Linked DNA regions of Homo sapiens: all the other regions are linked to region 2. Evidence: promoter capture Hi-C in human tissues and cell types (Jung and others, 2019). All regions are on one chromosome and are shown on one strand. The core of a region is centred on a gene start or on the middle of the fragment in contact, and the rest is flanking DNA. Distances in the headings are between cores, read along the strand shown.

What was found. Contacts are between HindIII fragments. The study calls those that stand out against the background at their distance.
Region 1: a contact is called between a fragment that was not itself captured here and the fragment with the promoter of VPS29 in region 2, in 2 of the 25 tissues and cell types used here (dorsolateral prefrontal cortex and hippocampus).
Region 3: a contact is called between a fragment that was not itself captured here and the fragment with the promoter of VPS29 in region 2, in 1 of the 25 tissues and cell types used here (dorsolateral prefrontal cortex).

The regions. Positions count from the first base shown.
Region 1 is chr12:110,058,283-110,061,136 of GRCh38, reverse strand. It overlaps a transcript of C12orf76 not described here. Among named protein-coding and RNA genes, the nearest start is that of C12orf76, 11 kb to the right of the region's middle. The HindIII fragment of the contact is 4,989 bases long and covers 1-2,854 here.
Region 2 is chr12:110,500,560-110,503,375 of GRCh38, reverse strand. VPS29 (VPS29 retromer complex component) reads left to right here and starts at 1,265. Exons shown (of 4, transcript NM_016226.5): 1 at 1,265-1,327. The coding sequence starts at 1,325. It overlaps RAD9B (RAD9 checkpoint clamp component B), which reads right to left and starts at 1,045. Exons shown (of 11, transcript NM_001286535.2): 1 at 993-1,045. The coding sequence starts at 1,038. RefSeq lists an enhancer at 1,297-1,436. The HindIII fragment of the contact is 3,487 bases long and covers 220-2,816 here.
Region 3 is chr12:110,038,328-110,041,131 of GRCh38, reverse strand. It overlaps ANKRD13A (ankyrin repeat domain 13A), which reads right to left. Exons shown (of 15, transcript NM_033121.2): 15 at 1,369-2,804. Among named protein-coding and RNA genes, the nearest start is that of C12orf76, 8.8 kb to the left of the region's middle. The HindIII fragment of the contact is 4,630 bases long and covers 1-2,804 here.

The DNA of each region.
Region 1 (2,854 bases), core at 270-2,769, 440 kb after region 2:
TGGATATATGAATCTGGAGCTGAGATGTAGGTTTCTTTTTTTTTTTTTTTTTTGAGTCAGAGTCTCTGGTCTCCCCCACAGAGCTGGCTCTGCATGAATTACTCTTCCTCTATTGCAATGAGCTAAGGGATATGAGGGCAGTTGTGCGATCTTAGCTCACTGCATCCTCCGCCTCCCGGGCTCAAGTGATTCTCCTGTCTCAGCCTCCTGAGTAGCTGGGATTACAGGTGCCCGCCACCACACCTGGCTAATTTTGTATTTTTAGTAGAGATTGGGTTTCACCATGTTGGGCAGGCTGGTCTTGAACTCCTGGCCTCAGGTGATCCGCCCACCTCAGCCTCCCAAAGTGCTGGGATTTCAGGCATGAACCACTGCGCCTGGCCTGAGATGTAGGTTTCTATATCACCAGCATATAGATGGGAACTAGAACCATGGAAGAAGCTGCAATTCACCAGCAAGAGAAGAAGTAGATGAGAAAGCAAGAGGGCCTAGAACCGACCCCGGAGAAGGGCTAACCTTTAAGGGGTGGGAGTGCTGAAGTCCCCAAAGGATTCTGAGAAGGAGTAGCCACAGAGATCCAATGAAAGTCAGGCAAAGGTGGATTCCTGCAAGCTAAGGGAAGGAGGTGAGGGAGGTGGGGCATGGTCACAGTGTCAACTGGTGCTGAGAGTTCCAGGAAGATCAGCTATGTGGTGTGTCTATTGGATTTAGTGACAATGACGTTGTTGTTTACTTGGCAAGAGAGGCTTTAGAGAAGGGATGGGGGTGGGAGCCAGACTGGAGTGGGCGGAGGAGTGAATGGAGATGCAGAAATGGATATGATGACTCACTCTTTCAGGGGACTTGGCTATGAAGAAGAGAGGCATGGAGTGGTGGTAAGAGAATGTGGGATTGAAGAGGGGGTATTTTGGAGACAGAGTTTCACTCTTGTTGCACAGGCTGGAGTGTAATGGGGTGATCTCGGCTCACCGCAACCTCCGCCTCTGGGGTTCAAGCTATTCTCCTGCCTCAGCTTTCTGAGTAGCTGGGAATACAGGCATGTGCCACCATGCCTGGCTAATTTTGTATTTTTAGTAGAGAAATGATGTTAAGTGCAGATGGAAAGGGGACAGGAGAGAAAGGGAAGTTGATGTGGTAAATGAAAATTATCTTCATCATCTTCCTCACCATCACCAGCAGTAACCACAAGGAAAGCTTGTTCTGCTCTGGGACTGCCCTGTCACTTTTCTTCCTGAGAAAATGAGCCAAAATCTTTCCCCCTGTAACTTTCACCTTTGCTTAGTTTTGCCTTGTGTCCCTCTTCAAATGGCTGCACACTGCTACTATGTCTCTCCTCTTCTTCAAACTCACAGCCTCCATCCTACAGGCCATGTGCTCTCAGCCTGGCGACCAGACCCTCAACTGTCTCAACCAAGTTCACACCGCTTGTTTGTCAAGCCCCTCTTAAGAGGCAGTGTACACACTCTTGCTTTGGTGATGGAAGCATGAAATGGTTCAAGCATTTATGATTTAGGAAAATAAACTCAGATAGAAAATGTGCACACCCTTTGACCCAGAAGTCCTGTATAGACTTAATGCCTTAGGTGTGTGAAGAAGCTTGTGCAGGGATTTCTGGCAACATGAATGTGGGGTGGACAGACAGTGAGCACAGTTGTTAGGAGCATAGCCTGAGTGCATTCTTCCTGAGATCAGGAACAGGACGAGGATGCCCGCTTTCACCGCTGCTGTTCAACATTGTACTGGAAGTTCTAGCCAGAGCAATTAGACAAGAAAAGCAATAAAAGGCATCCAGATGGCAAAGAATGAAGTAAAACTATCTTTAATCACAGATGGCACAATCCCATATATGGAGAATCCCGAAGAATTCACAAGAAAACTATTAGATAGAGCTAATTAACCAATTCAGTAAAGTCGCAAGGAACAAGATCAACACACAAAAATTAATTGTGTGTGTGCATTTTTTTTTACACCAGCAAGGAACATTTGAAAAGGAAATTGGAAAAATAATTCCATTTACCATAGCATTTAAGAGAGCTGAGGCTGTGGAGCCAGATGGCTGCGTTCAGAGCTGGCGCTGCTGTTTACCATGTGACCTTGGACAAGCTTCTCGCTTCATTCATACCACAGTTTGTTCGGCTATTAGGTGGAGGTAATACTAGCACCTTCCTTATAGAGTTGGTTTTTGTTTTCATTTTTTTGGTGGGGGGGAGTAAGAATTGCAAAAGTTAATATATGTCAGCAAAATAGACTTAGAAGAGTGGTTGGCACATGGTAAGGACATATTAGGGTTACCAAAAATTGTTTATAATTGGGAAAATTGAACAAAAGTTACAGTTAAATATCTATCCCAGAGACTGACTGGCAAATTATCACAATGTACCTCTTAGCTTGAGCCATATGGAACTGCCTGTATTCTATAGCTATGGCCTACAAAATGGGCAGTTCTTTCTTTCTTTTCTTTTTTTTGGAGAGAGAGTCTCACTCTGTTGCCCAGGCTGAAGTGCAGTGCAGTGGCATGATCTCGGCTCACTGCAACCTCCGCCTTCCAGGTTCAAGTGATTCTCCTGCCTCAGCCTCCCAAGTAGCTGGGATTACAAGCATGCACCACCACAACTGGATAATTTTTGCATTTTTAGTAGAGACAGGGTTTCCGCCATGTTGGCCAGCCTGGTCTTGAACTCCTGGCCTCAAGTGATCTGCCCGCCTTGGCCTCCCAAAGTGCTGGGATTACAGGCGTGAGGCACCATGACCTGCCAAAATGGGCAGTTTCATATATTCAATCACTAGGATACTCTTTAGCCACTGAAAATGATTGTGTATCATAGATCTATCTTTATCACAGATATCTTTACTG
Region 2 (2,816 bases), core at 16-2,515:
ATCCAACATACATCTCTGATGTTTGAGGGCAGCCAGATTTCCCCACCACAGAACACATTTAGGGCTGGAAAACACACTAGTCTGATCCCGTACGACATTGTTAATGTTCTTTTTATTTTTTATTTTTTTTGAGACAGAGTCTCACTCTGACACTCAGGCTGGAGTGCAGTGGCACGAGCTCAACTCACTGCAGCCTCAACCTCCCGGGCTCAATCGATCCTCTCGCCTCAGCCTTCCAAGTAGCTTGGGATTACAGGCGCCCACCACTAAGCCCGGCTAATTTTTGTATGTTTAGTAGAGACGGGGTTTCATCATGTTGGTCAGGGTGGTCTCGAACTCCCGACCTAAGGTGATCCACCCGCCTTGGCCTCCCAAAGTGCTAGGATTACAGGCGTGAGCCACTGCACCCGGCCTAACTTCCATTTTGAAAGCGCCGTTTACAACACTAATAGTTCTTGTACATTCCATCTATTACTGGGCTCTTTACACGCATTTCCATTTCATTGCCTCCAAACAAACTCTGTGACGAAGGTGCTGTCATTACCCCTGTTTCCGTTTTAGAAACTGAGCCCCAAAGAGATTTAGTGACTTTTCCAAGTTCATACATTTTTAAAAATGGTAGAATCTGGGGAAAAAAAAAACCAGGTTAATGCTGTTCTCTTGGCACAAAAATACTTTTACTGTCCAAGCATTATTTTTTTCTCTCAACTCTTCCCCATGCAGTCCTCAGCATCCCGAGTTTGTGGCCCGATGGTACAACTCTATTTCCCGGATACCACCCATATTACATCTGCCTCTAAGTCACACGAGATGGGTCCTCATCCTCCCCTCAGAAGTTAACAGGGACTTGAGTGGGTGGGGCTGTGGCCAGGGCGTGCGTCCTCAGTCATTGCGCAAAAAGGCAAAGAGGAAAAATTAGACAATGGTAGGGACGACCTATTAACGTCTGCTTTTCTCTCTGCTAAATGGGAAGACAACAAAGGCCGCTCCACCTTTCACCTGACTGCCGCTCATCACGCACTTCAGCATGGCTGCCATCCGCCCTAAAAAGCAGGCTCGGAAGGCGCGCCTCAGCTCGACGGCCCAGGTGCCCGGATGTTGCCCGCGCTTTTCAAAGCTTCGCGATCTCGTCTCTGCACTCTACCACCCCGCCTCCACAAGTTCCCAAACGGCTTTACGGCGGAGAAGGGTCCGTGCGGGCCTCCGTACGGCAATTTCTGTCTCCCTCTGCTCTCATTGGTTGCGGTTAAGTGGGCGGGTCGCCGAGGAGCCTGAGGAAGAGGGCGGCGACGGTGGTGGTGACTGAGCGGAGCCCGGTGACAGGATGGTGAGGGCTGCAGTTGCGGCGACCAAGGCCTGGCTCTCGGGTGGGGTGCTGCGTTGTTGGGAGCCGTGGGGAGGCCGAGGGCGAGGAATTGGGAAATCCCGGAGGCCTCGGCGTCAGGGCCCAGGCGCTGGCCTGGGAAAGGCCCAGAAGAGGTCTAGGGAAGGAAGGGAGCGGCCACCTCTGGGTGCGGCTGGCCTAGGTCTCGTATCCCGGCCCCAAGGGGCCAGAGGCCATCCAAGGGGTAAAAAGGCCCCTCTAGCAGCCCGACCTGTCACGAGACACGCACGCCCGAGCCAGGGAAGGCCTTTGGTCCTATACCTCGAATGTTCCGGGGATAGGGGCACGGTCCTCCGTTTCCAGACGGTTCCTACTCGTTTCCCGCAAAAAGCACCTCCCGCTGGTTGGGGTGTAGTGGTGGAAGCTGGCCTCTCGAATGCAGAACAGGAAGTAGCGAGCAGAATTTCGTACCCGTTTAACTTTGCCATCTAGGGAAAGGGAATAAACCACCCTCCTCGCTCCTGAAATAACATCTAGCTGCCATTGAGATGAGCAGGTGTGCTCTCAGAGGGCGGGATTTGGCGCTTGCAATTGCTGGAACTGTTTCTTTCCACGGGTTGCTACGCCTCTTTAGGGTAGGATTCCTTAATGATGTGTGAACTCATTGAAACTGTTGGGAAATTTTTGTGAATATACACATTTTTCTGGGGAGAGTGCCGGTGTTGGAGACTTACCTAGTCTCCCCCAGCCACCTTCAAGCAATCACCCCTTCACCCCCAGTAGTTTGGTGCCCCTCAGACCTTCCTACATAAAAACTGGGGGCCTCTACTAGAGAGGACTCAGAGCTGTAATCATATTTTCTTTCTTTCTTTTTGAGATGGAGTCTCGCTCTGTCGCCCAGGCTGGAGTGCAATGCCGCGATCTCGGCTCACTGCAATGCCGCCCGGGTTCAAGCCTCAGCTCCTGCCTCAGCCTCCCGAGTAGCTGGGATTACAGGCGCCCGCCACCAAGCCCGTCTAAATTTTTGTATTTTTAGTAGAGACGGGGTTTCACCATGTTGGTCAGGCTGGTCTCTACCTCCCGACCTCAGATGATCCACCCGCCTCGGCCTCCCAAAGTGCTGGGGTTACAGGCGTGAGCCACCGCGCCCGGCCTGTAATCATATTTTCAAAGGTGCCTTTGACTCTTAAAAAGTCAATTGTTTGGGGCAACCCACTCGGGTCCCCTTCCACCCTGTGTAAGCTTTGTTCTTTCGCTCTTCACAATAAATCTTGCTGCTGCTCAAAAAAAAAAAAAAAATCAATTGTTTGAAATGGAGCTGTGATTATCTTCATATTTGTGTTGATGGAGGTTGGCTGTAAAGGGACGTCTACCTCTGACAGGCATTTATTGCATTCTTTTTTATTTTTACAAGGAAACCAAAGAAGCTATGCATTTTTAAGATTATTACTATTGCATGACAAACAGCCTTTTCAAGAGGGGGACTTACAGA
Region 3 (2,804 bases), core at 66-2,565, 460 kb after region 2:
AGGTGTGTGTCTGAATTTGATCTAATCACTTAAAGAAGCTCTGTGAAGTGAAATTTCTTTTTTTGAGACGGAGTTTGGTTCCTGTTGCCCAGGCTAGAGTGCAATGGTGCATTGTTGGCTCACTGCAACCTCCACCTCCCGGGTTCAAGCGATTCTCCTGCCTCAGCCTCCAGAGTAGCCAGGATTACAGGCATGAGCCACCATGCCTGGCTAATTTTTTTGTATTTTTAGTAGAGATGGGGTTTCACCATGTTGGCCAGGCTGGTCTCAAACTCCTGACCTCAGGTGATCCACCTGCCTTGGCCTCCCAAAGTGCTGGGATTACAGGCGTGAGCCACTGCGCCTGGCCTAAAGTTGAGATAAAAGTCTCCTAGTGCTGCCTATGATTTAGTGACTGTGGAGTCATATCAGCATGTTGTATTTTTTTCCACCTGGACCTCAGGCTTAAACCTACACATATTTCTAAACAGAGGCCTAGGTGGTACTTTGAACTTCATCACTCACTGTACCACTGAATCACTTGAAATCTCCACATCCAGTTCATCTTCCTTGATGTCATTTGTGGTCAGCAGGAGACTGCGACCAAGCTGGCAGTTATGGCAGTTTCCCTTTCCTGTCATTATTTAGAGCAGACTTTCAATCCCTTGACATGCCACGTTTATGTAGTGTGACAAGCTTGTTTATAGAGCAGAGTGCCTTAGGAACTTAGTTCCTAGCAGTGTCTAACGTGCAGAAGTTGCTCAATTAAAGTTTCTGGCCGAGTGCGGTGGCTCATGCCTGTAGTCTCAGCACTTTGGGAGGCCGAGGCGGGTGGATCACCTGAGGTCAGGAGTTCGAGACCAGCCTGGCCAACATGGTGAAACCCCGTCTCTACTAAAAATACAAAAATAAGCCAGGCATGGTGGCACACGCCTGTAATCCCAGCTACTCGGGAGGCTGAGGCAGGAGAATCGTTTGAACCCGGGAGGCAGAGGTTGCAGTGAGCCAAGATCGCGCCATTGCACTCCAGCCTGGGCAACAAGAGCAAAACTCCGTCTCAGGAAAACAAACAAACAAAAAAAAAAAACCACTTCCTGCTGATATTGGGCCACTCAAGCTTAGCTTTTCAGTTTTTAAATAATCCATAGTCATTGCACCTCTTGACCTGAAAGAGTAATGGTTTTCTTCATAGTGTCCTTGTGGCTTCAAAGTATTGATATCTACTTTCCCCTAAAAGCAAAGCAGCTCCTTTACATCTTCCCAGAAATACAGCCTCATTTCTGGAACCCATACATTTCTACTGGCCACTGCCTTTGTTGTTTTTAATACCCGCTTATTTAGATATAGGAAGAGTTTGGAAGCCTTATCATCTGGACTTCTAGGAACAGCCTCACAAAGCAGTTGGCTTCAAGGGATAGCATTGATGCAGAGCTTTGATGTTGGCTGGGCTTCCCTTACCCCACAAGAGCCAGTTCCCCTCCAGGAGGACCACAGAGGTGTCAGAACAGCCCAACACTGGCTTGCTTTTAGTTGCCATTTGAAACAAGCAGCATGGGGCTTGTTAACCTGGGCAGGAAGGCTGGGAGGAGCATGCCACCTTTGCAGTGATGAACTGAGCGAAGTGAGGCATTCTAATGTTCTACTGACATACGTAACAGGAAGTGTGGGTACATCCAGTGACTAGAAAAAACTGAAAAGGAAAAAGACTCAAAGACTGGAATTTTGTATGAGCACCCTCTAAGGAAGCAGTCTTTATTTGCATTTTTAGAGTGAACACATATATGAAAAACACTGCAACAGGTTGACACAATGCTCAGTCCCTTTTTAAGTGAATTCCTGGGGAGAAAGTCAAGGACCTTAGGGAGCAGAGCAGTGGAATGCAAACACAGAAATTACCTATGAGTCACTTTTGTGAGCCAATGACACGGCCTCACTGCAGCCATTCCAAGAAGTATCTTTGCTCACGGTAAATGCAAAGTAAACAAAATACCACACTGCATATTTGAAACAAACAAATGTGACGTTGCCTATACTGGCCTCATGTGCAGAAGGAATTTTGGTCAGACAATGACAAAAAAAAAAAACAAAACAGATTGTGAAATGGAATTAAAAGCACAATTCTTTGTATCTGGGAACGTTTCACTGGCAACACTAACTGTATGATACAGACGTTACCTGGAACAGTAGTTATGTTTCTCTTCCTATCCCCAAAGAAGCACAATAGAAGAAATAGACGCAAAATGGAGGAGGGTGTTGTTTACCAGGTTATTTCAGTGCAGCCTGTGGGAATGAATACACGGGCCACAGTGAGCAGTGCCCTTGGCTGTATTCCCCAGGGTTCTGTATGTTGTGCGATGGTTATATACAAGAGGGTTTGACAAAAGAGAGTTAACTACTAAAGGTATCCAAAAAAGGCCTGAGAAAATCTGGTTAAAATGTATAACCTTGTATTGCTACTGATGGGAGTTGTTTTTATATCTTTTACAAATAATAAAAAGATTGTTAAAAAATAGATTTATCCAGAAAGATGTTGATTTGAACTCTAAAAAGCAACGTGGAATCATTATTTTCCCTTTTGAATGAAGAGCCATGGAGCTCCGTGGTTTTCAGCTCCCTTTCTGGTTGCAAATCAATCCTTCCTCTGGAGTGAGTCTAGGGCATGCGGGCTCTTCCTAGGTGTCTACGTGGAAATCCTTCACTCATGCAGGTGTAGAACACACCTGGTTTGGTTCTGTGTGTTCCAATATTTTGGCCAGCTTGCCCACTTCAAGAACAAGCCTCAGGTTCCCCTAGCTGCTCCTTCAGGGACAGGATTAGCTGCCTTT